2 separate regions of the Homo sapiens genome follow, and region 2 is linked to region 1. Evidence: promoter capture Hi-C in human tissues and cell types (Jung and others, 2019). All regions are on one chromosome and are shown on one strand. Each heading gives the region's core, a stretch centred on a gene start or on the middle of the fragment in contact. The rest is flanking DNA. Distances are from core to core; before and after follow the strand shown. Region 1 holds the start of CISH (cytokine inducible SH2 containing protein). Region 2 overlaps CACNA2D2 (calcium voltage-gated channel auxiliary subunit alpha2delta 2).

Region 1 (5,314 bases), core at 2,481-4,980:
AGCTGGGGTGCGTGCTGTCACGTACTAAGAACGTGCCTTCTGGCATCTTCTGCAGGTGTTGTCGGGCCTCGCTGGCCGTAATGGAACCCCAATACCAGCCTAGGCAAGTGCAGAGGGGGCCAAGGGACATAGTGGAAATTAGCTGGGGTAACCAATCCAGTGCAAGTCAAGGCAGTGCCTCCAGCTTCACGCTTCCCTAGAGAGGGCTGTGCCTCTCCCATCAGACTCTCCTGGGCCGGGCTATGCCTCCCAAATCAGACTCAAAGGCAGAACTAAGCTTCTCCCACCAGACTACTCAGGAAAAGGCCTGCCTCCCCCCTCAGACTCACCAGATTCCCGAAGGTAGGAGAAGGTCTTGGCTATGCACAGCAGATCCTCCTCTGGGTCCAGCACCTTTGGCTCACTCTCTGTCTGGGCTGGGGTACCCTCTGCCACCTCCTCGAGGAAGGCCCCAGCAGGCAAGGGCTGCATGACTGGCTTGGGCAGTTCCAGGGACGGGGCCCACAGGGGCCGCTGCCCAGTCCGCTCCACAGCCAGCAAAGGACGAGGTCTAGAAGGCAGTGGATGAGCAGTGAGTGGAGGACCCATGCTTCCCCCATCTCCAGAGACCCCCCTATGCCCCAGACTAGTTTCATGACCTCTGGCTGGCCCATCTCACTATGAGCCTCAGCTTCCCCTCTACCCAGCCATGGGCTCAGTTAGTCCAGTATCTCGTTCCCCACTTGTCATCACAAAAGCCACCTTGATTGTTTCCATGTGGGGATCCTCTTTTGAAAGATTCTTTTCCACTGCCCTGCATTTACTAAACAGTAATTAATTGCTCTCTATTTTATATCAACCAAAAACACAGATCATTCCCTATAGGCATGTCTAATGTTCTCACCACACTGATAGGATTCAGTGCAAAGTAGCTTCATGTTTGTGCCCTCCTGGCTGAAGTGGGCTGATTAAATGGCCCACTGATGAATGGTCCTAGTTGAGATAGATCTACGACAGACAAGTAGATTTATCCTATGATAGATCTGTGTGGGGTCCTCCAGAGAAGCCCCAGGATTATGGTAGGCTGCCTGAGGTCACACGCTACCTCCCCATGGATAGGAGTGTCTCTCAGAGGGACCTAGGTCCACACTGGCCAGGACTTAGAGACTGAAATAATCCCCTACCCATACAAGTCAGCCTATCCTGGCCTCTGCTTCTCCCAGTGGAGGGTCTGGGGTGGACAGTGGCCTCTAAAGGCACTGGCAAGTCTCACCTCCTGTCAGTATGAGCTCCCACCAAGGGCAGGGACCTAATCCACACTCCAGTTCCCACCCTGGCAAGCCAGCCCTACCAGGCTCTACGATCTTGTACAAAGCTTGCTCTTCACTGGGCTTCAGTTTCCCTTTTCCGCAATAAAGGGTCCCACCAACCCATGCACTGAGAGGTTCAGTAACACCATATTCTTGGATGGCTGGGGTTGGGGGAACTGAGCCGACCAAAATCTGAGTAGCAGCTTTCTCCTAGGGGAAGCCCACCCAGCAGGGTGATACTAGGGCTTCCTCCTTGGGAGGGCAGCAGGGACTGGCTCTACTTCCCCAGGAAGACAGCTGCTCCTCCCTCACTCCTTGCAAAATACATCTCCAAGCCTTAGTTCTGGGTCTAGTCCCTGGCTGGGCCTCAGGACACCGCCATAATGAAACCATGGCCTTGCCCTCAAGGAGAACCAGACTGGCTGGGGAAGATGACACTAAGAGTAATTATAATGCAAAGTCATAAAACTGCAGGTGTCACGGGGGAGTCAGGGTCTGCTTGCTCCTGAGCTGTGTCTTCCAGGCCAAAGGAAGGAGCTGGGGGAAGGGACCCCAGGTAGAGAGGACAGCATGGGCAAACAGCGCCAGTATTGCTTGTGAGGCAGGAAGGCGCAGGCAGGAGCTGGTGGCAGGAGCCAGACCTGACTCCTGTGTAGGTTATAGGTGACCCTCTAGGTTCTAACAAATCATGGCCCTATGACCACTCACAGTGAGAAAGGGCCACACAACTCTGGCACACCACAGCCTGACAAAAACTTTTCCACACCTACCCTGGCTGTACTGTGGGATCTTGGAAATCCCTCTTGGAGAGCTGGAGGCCAAATTTTGAGATGACCTGCTTGCTGGGGCCCAGAGCTACCTTCCCAGGAGCATGGTTGGTGGCTAGCCAGTCAGGCTGGAACCTCTGTGGGTGGCCACGTCCAGATAGCTTAGCCGGTCCTCAGATCCCACATGTAGGTGTGGGCACCTTTGGGGCTGATGTGGTAGCTGGGTGTATGAATAGCTGTGTTGATCACCACAAGCTCCTGGTGAGTGTGTACCTGGGCAGGGGTGTGTCCATGGCTGTGTCATCATCATGGTGGGGACAGTGGCTGGTGTGTTCTAGGTACATGTGTGTGCCCGCTTTGGAGCGCAGCAGTCTAAAACTTTGTTCCCTGACACCCAACAGTAGCCCTGAGCTTACAAGGGGGTGCTCACCTAGGGTAAAAAGTGAAAGAGGCTATGGGACCCCGGAATGCAGGGGGAGGCTCCTGGGGTGGAAGGCAGTGGTGGGGCAGGTATTCAGGAGTCCCAGAATGCAGACAGGAGGAAGGAACTTGCTGGAGACAGCAAGGGAGAAGTAGTCTTCCCAGCACCTCCATGTCCTCTTCCTTGGCCTCACCTTCCACCCTCCCTCACTTGGCACCAGGCCAGTTGCGATAAGCACAGCCACCCAGTCCTCCCTGAGTGCAGAACACCCATTTATACCTTCTTCCTCTCTCCTTGGAGCTTCCTGAGCTCCTGTCACATCACCATGGCCAGCATCAGACCCTTTGGTTGAAGGGGTTGCTGAGGTTCAGGACAGAGTGGATGGCCAGGAATGCTCAGCTCAGGTCAAGACTCTGTCTTATCAGCATCCCCTCTCCACTGTCCCTTACCTCAAGTCTGGGAAATTTGAAGATGAGAGGCAGGAGCCAAGGTCCTTCTCACATTGGGATCCCAGACTGGGCTGAGACAGGGTTGTGAGACGATTGTGGGGGTACCCCAAGCAGGACCAGGCCAAACCCAGGGCCTCCCGAGAGTTGCAGACCATCAGGTGCCAGCCTGAGGAAAGGCAAGGATCTGCGGCTGGCTTCCCAAGAAGAGCCTACTTGCTAGCCTGGGGCAGGAGAGGGGACACCAGGACAGAGGGGGCCAGGGGCTGGTCCAAGGTTACTAGCAGGCAGGGCAGCAGGCAGGCTAGCGTAGAGTGCTCTGGGCCCAGAAGAATATCTGGGATTGTTGGCCACATCTTGGGGGACGCCGTGCCGTTAGCATCCATCTGCTCCAATGAGAACCCAGGCTGAGCCCACCCTGTGAGTTCCTCCTTTAGCCGGCCAGCCCCCGGTTTCCCAATCCACAGTGGGAATTGAGGTAAGTGTGTGGGGGCGGGGAGTGGGAGTGTCACAGCCCCACACAGAGCCTTGCTCCTGAGGTCCGTCTGCGCTCAGTCACCTCTGGCCCGTCAAGCCCTCCCAATGCCCGGCAGCTAGCACGAAGCCCCTGTTCTCCCGTGCGCCCCTCGTGGTGGCCGGGAAGGGGGCAGAGAGCCGCGCTTACCCCTGAACGCAGAGGACCATGTCCCCGCGGCAGCGGCGACTCCGGAGTGGGGACTCGGCTGGACGGCGGCGGCTGGAGGGAACCAGTGGGCGCGGAGCGCGTGCTGGGTAGGCTCCCGGGGCGCGCGGGCGCAGGACAGGGACTGAGAGGCAGTGGCGCGGACCGCCTGCGAGGGCGAGGGGGGCGGGCCAGACGAGCGGGGCGGGGCGAGCTGCTGCCTAATCCTTTGTCTGCCGCGTTCCAGCCCTTCCCGGAAGCAGCGTCTTCCTAGAACCGCGGGCTGAGCGGTGGGGCCCGGGCGGGGTGCGCGGGCCCCGTCGCCGGGTCTGGGGCCCTGAGCAGTGAAAGGAAATACTTTGACAGATTTCCAAGAACTTTCCAGGAAAACGGGGCGGGGCCCCGCGAGCTGACCAATCGCGACGCTGAAGGTGGAGCCGAGCGGTCGGGGAGGGCCAATAGCAGCGCGTGGACCCGGGGCTGAAGCTACCCAGAGGGGCAGGTCGGAGAGATCAGTGGGGAAAGACCGGGTCGGGGAAGTTAAGGAGGGGCCCGGGCTCAGCAACCCGCGCCCAGATTGCCTTCTGGCATTCTGCGTCGTTGGGGAAGGGCCCTCTTATCTCGCGGTGGAACTCGTGGCAGGGCGGGGGGCGGAGTCCCGGGCTTGTCCTCCCTGCGAGCGGCTCCTCCAAGGAGGTCTGTCGGCGTGTGCAAGCGCCCCGTGTTGGGACGGCCGCTCCTGGACCCTAGGACTCTGTGTGTCGGGTGTCGGATTGGGTGGCATGGGGTGAGATCTGGAGCGGGACTTAGGGCAGGGCGGGGTGCAGAGGACAGTTCCAGAAATGAGTGGGTCCACTGAGGTCAAGCCGGCGGTCACCACAGCCAGAAAGATCCAGACAAGAACGTTTTCTTTGAAAGAGTTGAAGGAGAAAGCACGCCCCAACTTTTCGAATCAGGCAGACCATCCAGTCTTGGCTGGCACTGGTTTCTGGCCGGCCCTGCCAGTCAGGGGAGAAGAGACTACAGATTTGAGAAAGCAAGCAGAGACAGCCCCAGATGGCCCGGACTCTGGGTTGGTACCACCCCCACCCCCCGCCAGAAAAAAAATGCTGAGAGAGAGTCCTGCAACTCAAAACATAGGGAGATAATCTGGGAGTAGGGTGATAGAGGTTGGGGCGGGATGGCGGGGGCAGAGTAGTAACACTCGCTCTTATCTACAGGGAGTACTTGCTGCATTTGATCCTCTACAACTGGTGTTGCTCCCGTTATGCGGACAGAAGACAGCCCCAGGGAACAAATGCTAGGAAATGGCAGGGTAAGAGCTTGGTCCCAGCTCTGAATCAGAAGCCCACGCTCCTACCAGGACCCTCTCCACCTTTTTTCAGTTCACTGGATTCACTATGGAGCATCTTGAAGGACTGTAGGGTCTGTGAATCTCCTCCAAACCCTTGGGCCAGAAGAACTGTGGGATTTGGAGAGGTTGCAGGGTCCACTCCCCACCCCCATCCCCCTCCCAGTGTGTGCCCCCAGGGTCCCCAGAAAGGAGTCTAGCTCTGAGATCCTGGGCAGGGATGACAGACCCCTGGCCTTGTTGAAGGGCCTGAACGATAGCATCCAGGGAAGACAGGGCTCAGTTTGCTCTGCCCAGAATGGCAGAGGGCAAAAGAAACCTGAAAGCAAAACCCTGTGAAACTGGGGAAAAAACGTTAAGTTTCAGATTTCAGGGCAGT
Region 2 (5,186 bases), core at 593-3,092, 170 kb before region 1:
CTGCTATCTAAATCCTCTCTAGGGCAAGGCCAGGGAAATGGGCTGGAAGGGGTTTCTGCTGAGAGGAGAGCAGAATCCCAGAAGTGCAGGGGCTGGTCATGCTGCCAGCCAAGCCTGCTCCCCAATCCCAAATGAGCCCTTGAGGTGCAACAGTCCTCGAATGATAGCCCCTAGTGCCACAGCCCTCCCCCTCAACATTCCCCTGAACTTGCTCCAATTGTTCCTGTCTTCTAGGGTGGGCCCTGAGCTGAGCCCCAAATCCCCAGGAGATCTAAGTGACACAGCCCAGCAGATGGTCCCATCCTGGGAGAAAGGTCATCTCTACATTGATGTGGTCCAGGGAGGTGCTTTCCACCTGCAGGCCCAGCAGGAGCCCAGGAGAGCCCAGGGCAACTCCAGTGCACAGACTCTGCCCAAGACTAGCCCCACTCCAGCCCCAGCCTCTAGCCCTGGCTCCTAGGGCCAGCTGGGAAGTGCAGAAAGGCCAGGGTGCACCGGATGCAGAGCCTCAACCACCACAGCAGGATGGCAATGCCCACTGATGTCCTTGGCCCAGAGAGTTAATTAGAAAAAGCCAACTGCTCCCACAGCAGCACAGCCGGCACAGCCCCACCTCTGCTGGACTAAGGAGCACGACGGGGCCCAGCTGATCCCAGGGTGCCCCAGCTCTGTGCCAGCAGTGATAGGGAGGGAGAGGCAGCAGCTTTAACCCACAGAGAGTGCCAGGATGCTGGTGGGACAGGGTAGCAGACTGGAGCCAGGTGGGGATGTGGGGGAGGACTGAGGAACAGGGAGAACAGGGGTGGCTGAGGTCCCAAGGGACAATTCAGGAGTCTGTTTGGAGCCCCTTGTTCCCAGGAATTCCTGGTTCCCCCCCTTGTTTCATGTACTGGTGACCATGGCTCAGCTGGTGCCCTCCTCCCTTGAGGGCACTCCTATCCCACCAGTGATGGAGACCTGCCCCTCCACCTCTCCCCTCCCCCAGGGCTGGCTCTAGCTTCAACCCTCTCTCAGCTCTAGCAGTTCTTCAGTTAGGCATCAGGGCAAGTCCGGCCAGCCCTCCATCCTAGGGCTTCACAGGGCCGTGGGGGCTGATGCCTCCTTAGAAGCCCCGAACCCTCTGCCCAGCCTCCTGCTTCCCCCATGGCTCCGTGTAAGTGGGAGGCGAGCCTGGAGGACCCTTGCAGGAATGGTGACCTTGGACAGGAAGCCTGCATGCTGGCAGGAGCAAAGGGAGCCAGCCTCGTTCCCACAGCTCCTAACAGAGCTGCCTGGGAGAGAGGAGTCCAACTACCAGCCCCAACGTGCCTGGAACATAGAGACAGCCACCACAGGAAACTAAAGGCCTCAGGACAAGTGACCTGGGCAGGCCCCAATCAGAAGGCATTTTAGAAAGTCAGCAGCAAGGGAGCCCAGACCTGAGCTACCAGCAAACCTGCCTAGGGCAAGGGGGAAGATGGAAGGGGAGAGGAAAAGGAGAGAGGAGAGGGGAAAGGAGAGTGGGGAAAAGCAAGGAGGAAGGGCCAAGGAAGCTGCAGGAACAGCCCTGTTTGCCCCGAGTGTTAGCTCTGGCTGCTCTGGGGCAGGTGGTTTACATAGATGACATCACTGATCTCCTACAACCCCTGAGGAGGGTCCATTCTGATCATCTCCATGTGGCAGAGAGGACACTGAAGGCCAGAGAGGTTAAGGCGCATGCAAAACTGCGGTTTGAACTGGGTCGAATCCAAAGCCCTTGCTTTAGGTCATACTCTTTGTACAGTTCTGTACCCCACCTTTATCCCTAAACTTGAAGGCAAAGCCATGGGAAAAGAGGCATAGGGATGAACTGGGCAGGCCTGAAGGGCTTGGGGCGGATGCAGGCAGAGGCTGAAAGACTGAGGCCCCTGGAAGGTGGGAGGGCCATGCTGGAGGGGAATGAGGGGAAGACTGGCAGGGCCAGCCCAATCGACTAAGCACCCACCCAACCCTGGGAGTCAAAACAGGCACTCGCACGCAAGGCTCCTCTCCGCAGCGAAGGTGAACAGCCCTAATCTCTGGAAAATTAAATCAGAAAGAAAATGGAACAAGAAAGATTTGACGCAGGCTTGGCCCTGCTGCCAGCTGTCTCCTCAAAGACCCAGCTCACCTTGGGGTTTTGCCAGGTGCTCCAGCACCCCTGGCCTGAGCCCCGAGGCATGACTCCGGGGAGACTGGCGCTCCAATCCCCTCACCACATTTCACCACAGGGAGCAGCCAGGTGAAAGTCTTAACTGTCCATTAGGCCCCTGCAGGGAGGGCAGCCAGTGGATGAGAGACTGTGGGCGAGGCCTCCTGAGGCCCAACCCAAATAAACAAGCCCTGGGGAGGGAACCACCTCAAGAGGCCACAGGGTCTGCAGTTGGAGGCCGGGGTCAGCTGCCAGACTGGGCTACACTCATGTCAGGGATGTTGGGTGGGTGGCTAGGGGGCTTGTGGTGGCTCAGGAAGCCTGAGCTGGGCCAATGAGGTAGGGCGATTGGCGACAGGTAGTGACCAGTTCAAGGACCCTAGCCAGTCAGGGTAGAGCCAGGTCCGGGCCCCCTGCCTCACCCACCCCTTCTAGGCTGCTAACCTGGCCTTCTGCCTCAGTGAGAAAATAGAGGGTATTGACATAACTGCAAATCCACCTTGAAGACTGGAGAGTTGATGGGGTAACCAGGCACCTGGGGACCCTCTACCACTGACAGCACTTGGGACAGATCCAGGACAGGCTGCACCCCTCAGGGCTCTCCCTATAGCCTAGTTCTTGATGGGACTGAGGGGCTGCCCCATGATGGGTGCACAAAAACCCTAATCTGGCTGCTCTGGGGACACACCAGCCACGAGACTGGGTGTGTGACTGGCAGCTCCCCAGGAGGGGGCTAAGGCCTGTCCCTCACCAGCCTGGCACAGGGCTTACAGTAGGGCAAGGGGCCCCTGGAGCCCTCAGGGCACACTATCGGTGCCCAGGCAGGGGGGCTGCGTGCCACTCAGTTACATGCTTCATCAGCTGCTGACATTTTTGCCAACTGCCATGTTAGGTTCCTAAGTGGCCATGCCACACTGCCACCATCCCAGGCGGGGTGGCCCCATGGTCACTCAGCTGTATATGGTGTCCTGTCACACACAGGTTTTGTACACTGTGATGTTAGTTGTCCCATTAATAATTCCCCTTCATATCCAGTACAGAATGCCTGGGATGAACGCTCTCTTTAGAGGGCATCACAGACACAGAACCAGGCCATTACAATCAGCCTGCACGGGCTACAGTGGAGGTCACACAGCAGTGTGGGAGCAGAGAGGAGGGTGCCTGGCCTGGTCTCCTGGGTGGGCGGCCCATTAATAGCACTATCCTCCCCCACCCCCACCTCCTTACATCCCCCTGGAACAGCAGAGATGGAACAGACCTCGTCCCTGCCCTCCTGGGACTCTCTATCCAGAGGGGACAGATGCCCAGACAGGTGGCAGTAGACAGAGCTGTGCAGGAGACACTTGGGAGTGGGGCTGGCCTGCTCCAGGGTGGTAGGGGGCAAGAAAAAGCCTGGGGAGGGCTTTCCAGGGGAGAGGACATCTGAGCAGTCTGAAAGGCTGGGCAGGGGTTTTTGTGGGTGGACAGGGACGAGGGACGCTTGGCAGCAGTAGCGCCAGGTGCAAAGGCTGGGAGAAGCGGGGATAAGGGACTGCTCAGTGGCTGCAGAGGGGCTTGTTGGGGGACAGAAGCTGGGGAGACAGGGTGTGAGGGCAAGGGGAGCAGATACCCAGGTGGTGGGGACAGGGGGATCCTCCAGGAAGGAGGGACATGTGACTGACCACAAGGTGAGAAAGGCCTGGCGGCTCTGTGGTCCCTCGTCCTCAAGAGGCAACTTCTAGGAGCTTTCACCAGCAAGATTACCTTCACAAAACTCACAGGGGCCTGAAGCCCCCACCACCACCCCCAGCAACGCCTCCCTGTTTTTAAAGTTAAAGTTTAGTTGACTGTCATCCATTACCGCAATTAGTACATTATGTCTAATTATGCAATTAGTGTAAAAAGTGCACTTGCTGCTGAGAATGGGAAATTACGCTGCCTCGTTACGCTGTAAAATCCATGTCATAAAAAGGCTCAATCTCTTGTTTTTCAAAAGACACAAAACCCAACACAAAACAATAAACCAAATCCTCCCAGCCAAGCAAGGGCCAGTCTGTGCCAACCTCCCTGTGCTTGCCCCTGTGCAGAGCCTGCCTGTGAGGCCTGCCCTAAATGTGCCCCCAGGCAAGGCACCACCCACCAGAGACACTGGGCATGGCCCATTCCTGGGTGTAGCCCTTTGCTCCTCTGAAACATACGCGAATTTCCAAACTGACTTGAAAACTGTGGCAATCCTGATTATCCATTTACACCAGGCCTGACTTGAGGCCTCCAGTGTTAAGGCCTGTATCTCAGGGGAGAACAGTCCTAGAAGGAAATGGTATCCACCCAGCTCCAAAATGAGAGGTCCTTTCTCCAAGGTTCCTGATGGCTTCTGTGAACAGGGTTGCAGAATCCAGCTCGGAAGTGGGAGGAACTTTCCCACACTCAGGACTCCCAAAGCCTGAAAGCAACACCTGGATAAGTAGTGAGCCCCCCACCACAGGGACTATTCCAGCCCAGCTGTCAGGAATGCTGAGAAGGGACTCACCCATCATTAGCAAGCACCGTGGCTGGATTCCAGGCTGCCATCGTTAGATAACAGCATTCCTATGGCCGTGTGCCTATGTGAAGCTTGCAGTCTGTGACTTTATCTCCCCTAAATTCTGGCTCCCTTGGTGGTCACGAGGATGCTTTGGGGACAGGTTTGGAGTGAGAAAGAATCAAATGAGGTCTCCCTACTACAGAAGTGACAATCCCAAATGGCCCTGGGCAAGGGGGCTGGAGAGGGGGCACACTCCAGTGTCCCCGCCTGCCTATGCCAGCATGAGGCACACTCCTGTGTACCTCAAAACAAATGCTGCAGGACCAAAGCCATCCACGATGTATCTCCAAGGTCACAAGTTAATGCTCTAGCGTAGGCTGCTGAGTGCCTGCCCAAGAAGCACTTTCCCCAAGCAGCTTCCCTGAGCCCCTGCCTCTGAGCTCCCACCACTCCTTGATCTAAGATGCTTGACCCAGGCCTTGGGGTGGGTGGTGCAATACCACGGAGACACCTTCACAGACAAGAATCTGCCCT

What was found. Contacts are between HindIII fragments. The study calls those that stand out against the background at their distance.
Region 2: a fragment that was not itself captured here is called in contact with the fragment with the promoter of CISH in region 1 in 1 of the 25 tissues and cell types used here (H1 embryonic stem cells).

What each region holds. Positions count from the first base shown.
Region 1 is chr3:50,608,044-50,613,357 of GRCh38, forward strand. It overlaps CISH (cytokine inducible SH2 containing protein), which reads right to left and starts at 3,731. Exons shown (of 3, transcript NM_145071.4): 1 at 3,588-3,731; 2 at 330-550; 3 at 1-99. The coding sequence starts at 3,607. It also overlaps a transcript of MAPKAPK3 not described here. RefSeq lists enhancers at 2,690-3,250, 4,160-4,249 and a silencer at 3,600-4,079. The HindIII fragment of the contact is 7,054 bases long and covers 816-5,314 here.
Region 2 is chr3:50,437,349-50,442,534 of GRCh38, forward strand. All of the region lies in intron 2 of CACNA2D2 (calcium voltage-gated channel auxiliary subunit alpha2delta 2), which reads right to left. Among named protein-coding and RNA genes, the nearest start is that of CACNA2D2, 64 kb to the right of the region's middle. The HindIII fragment of the contact is 9,524 bases long and covers 1-5,186 here.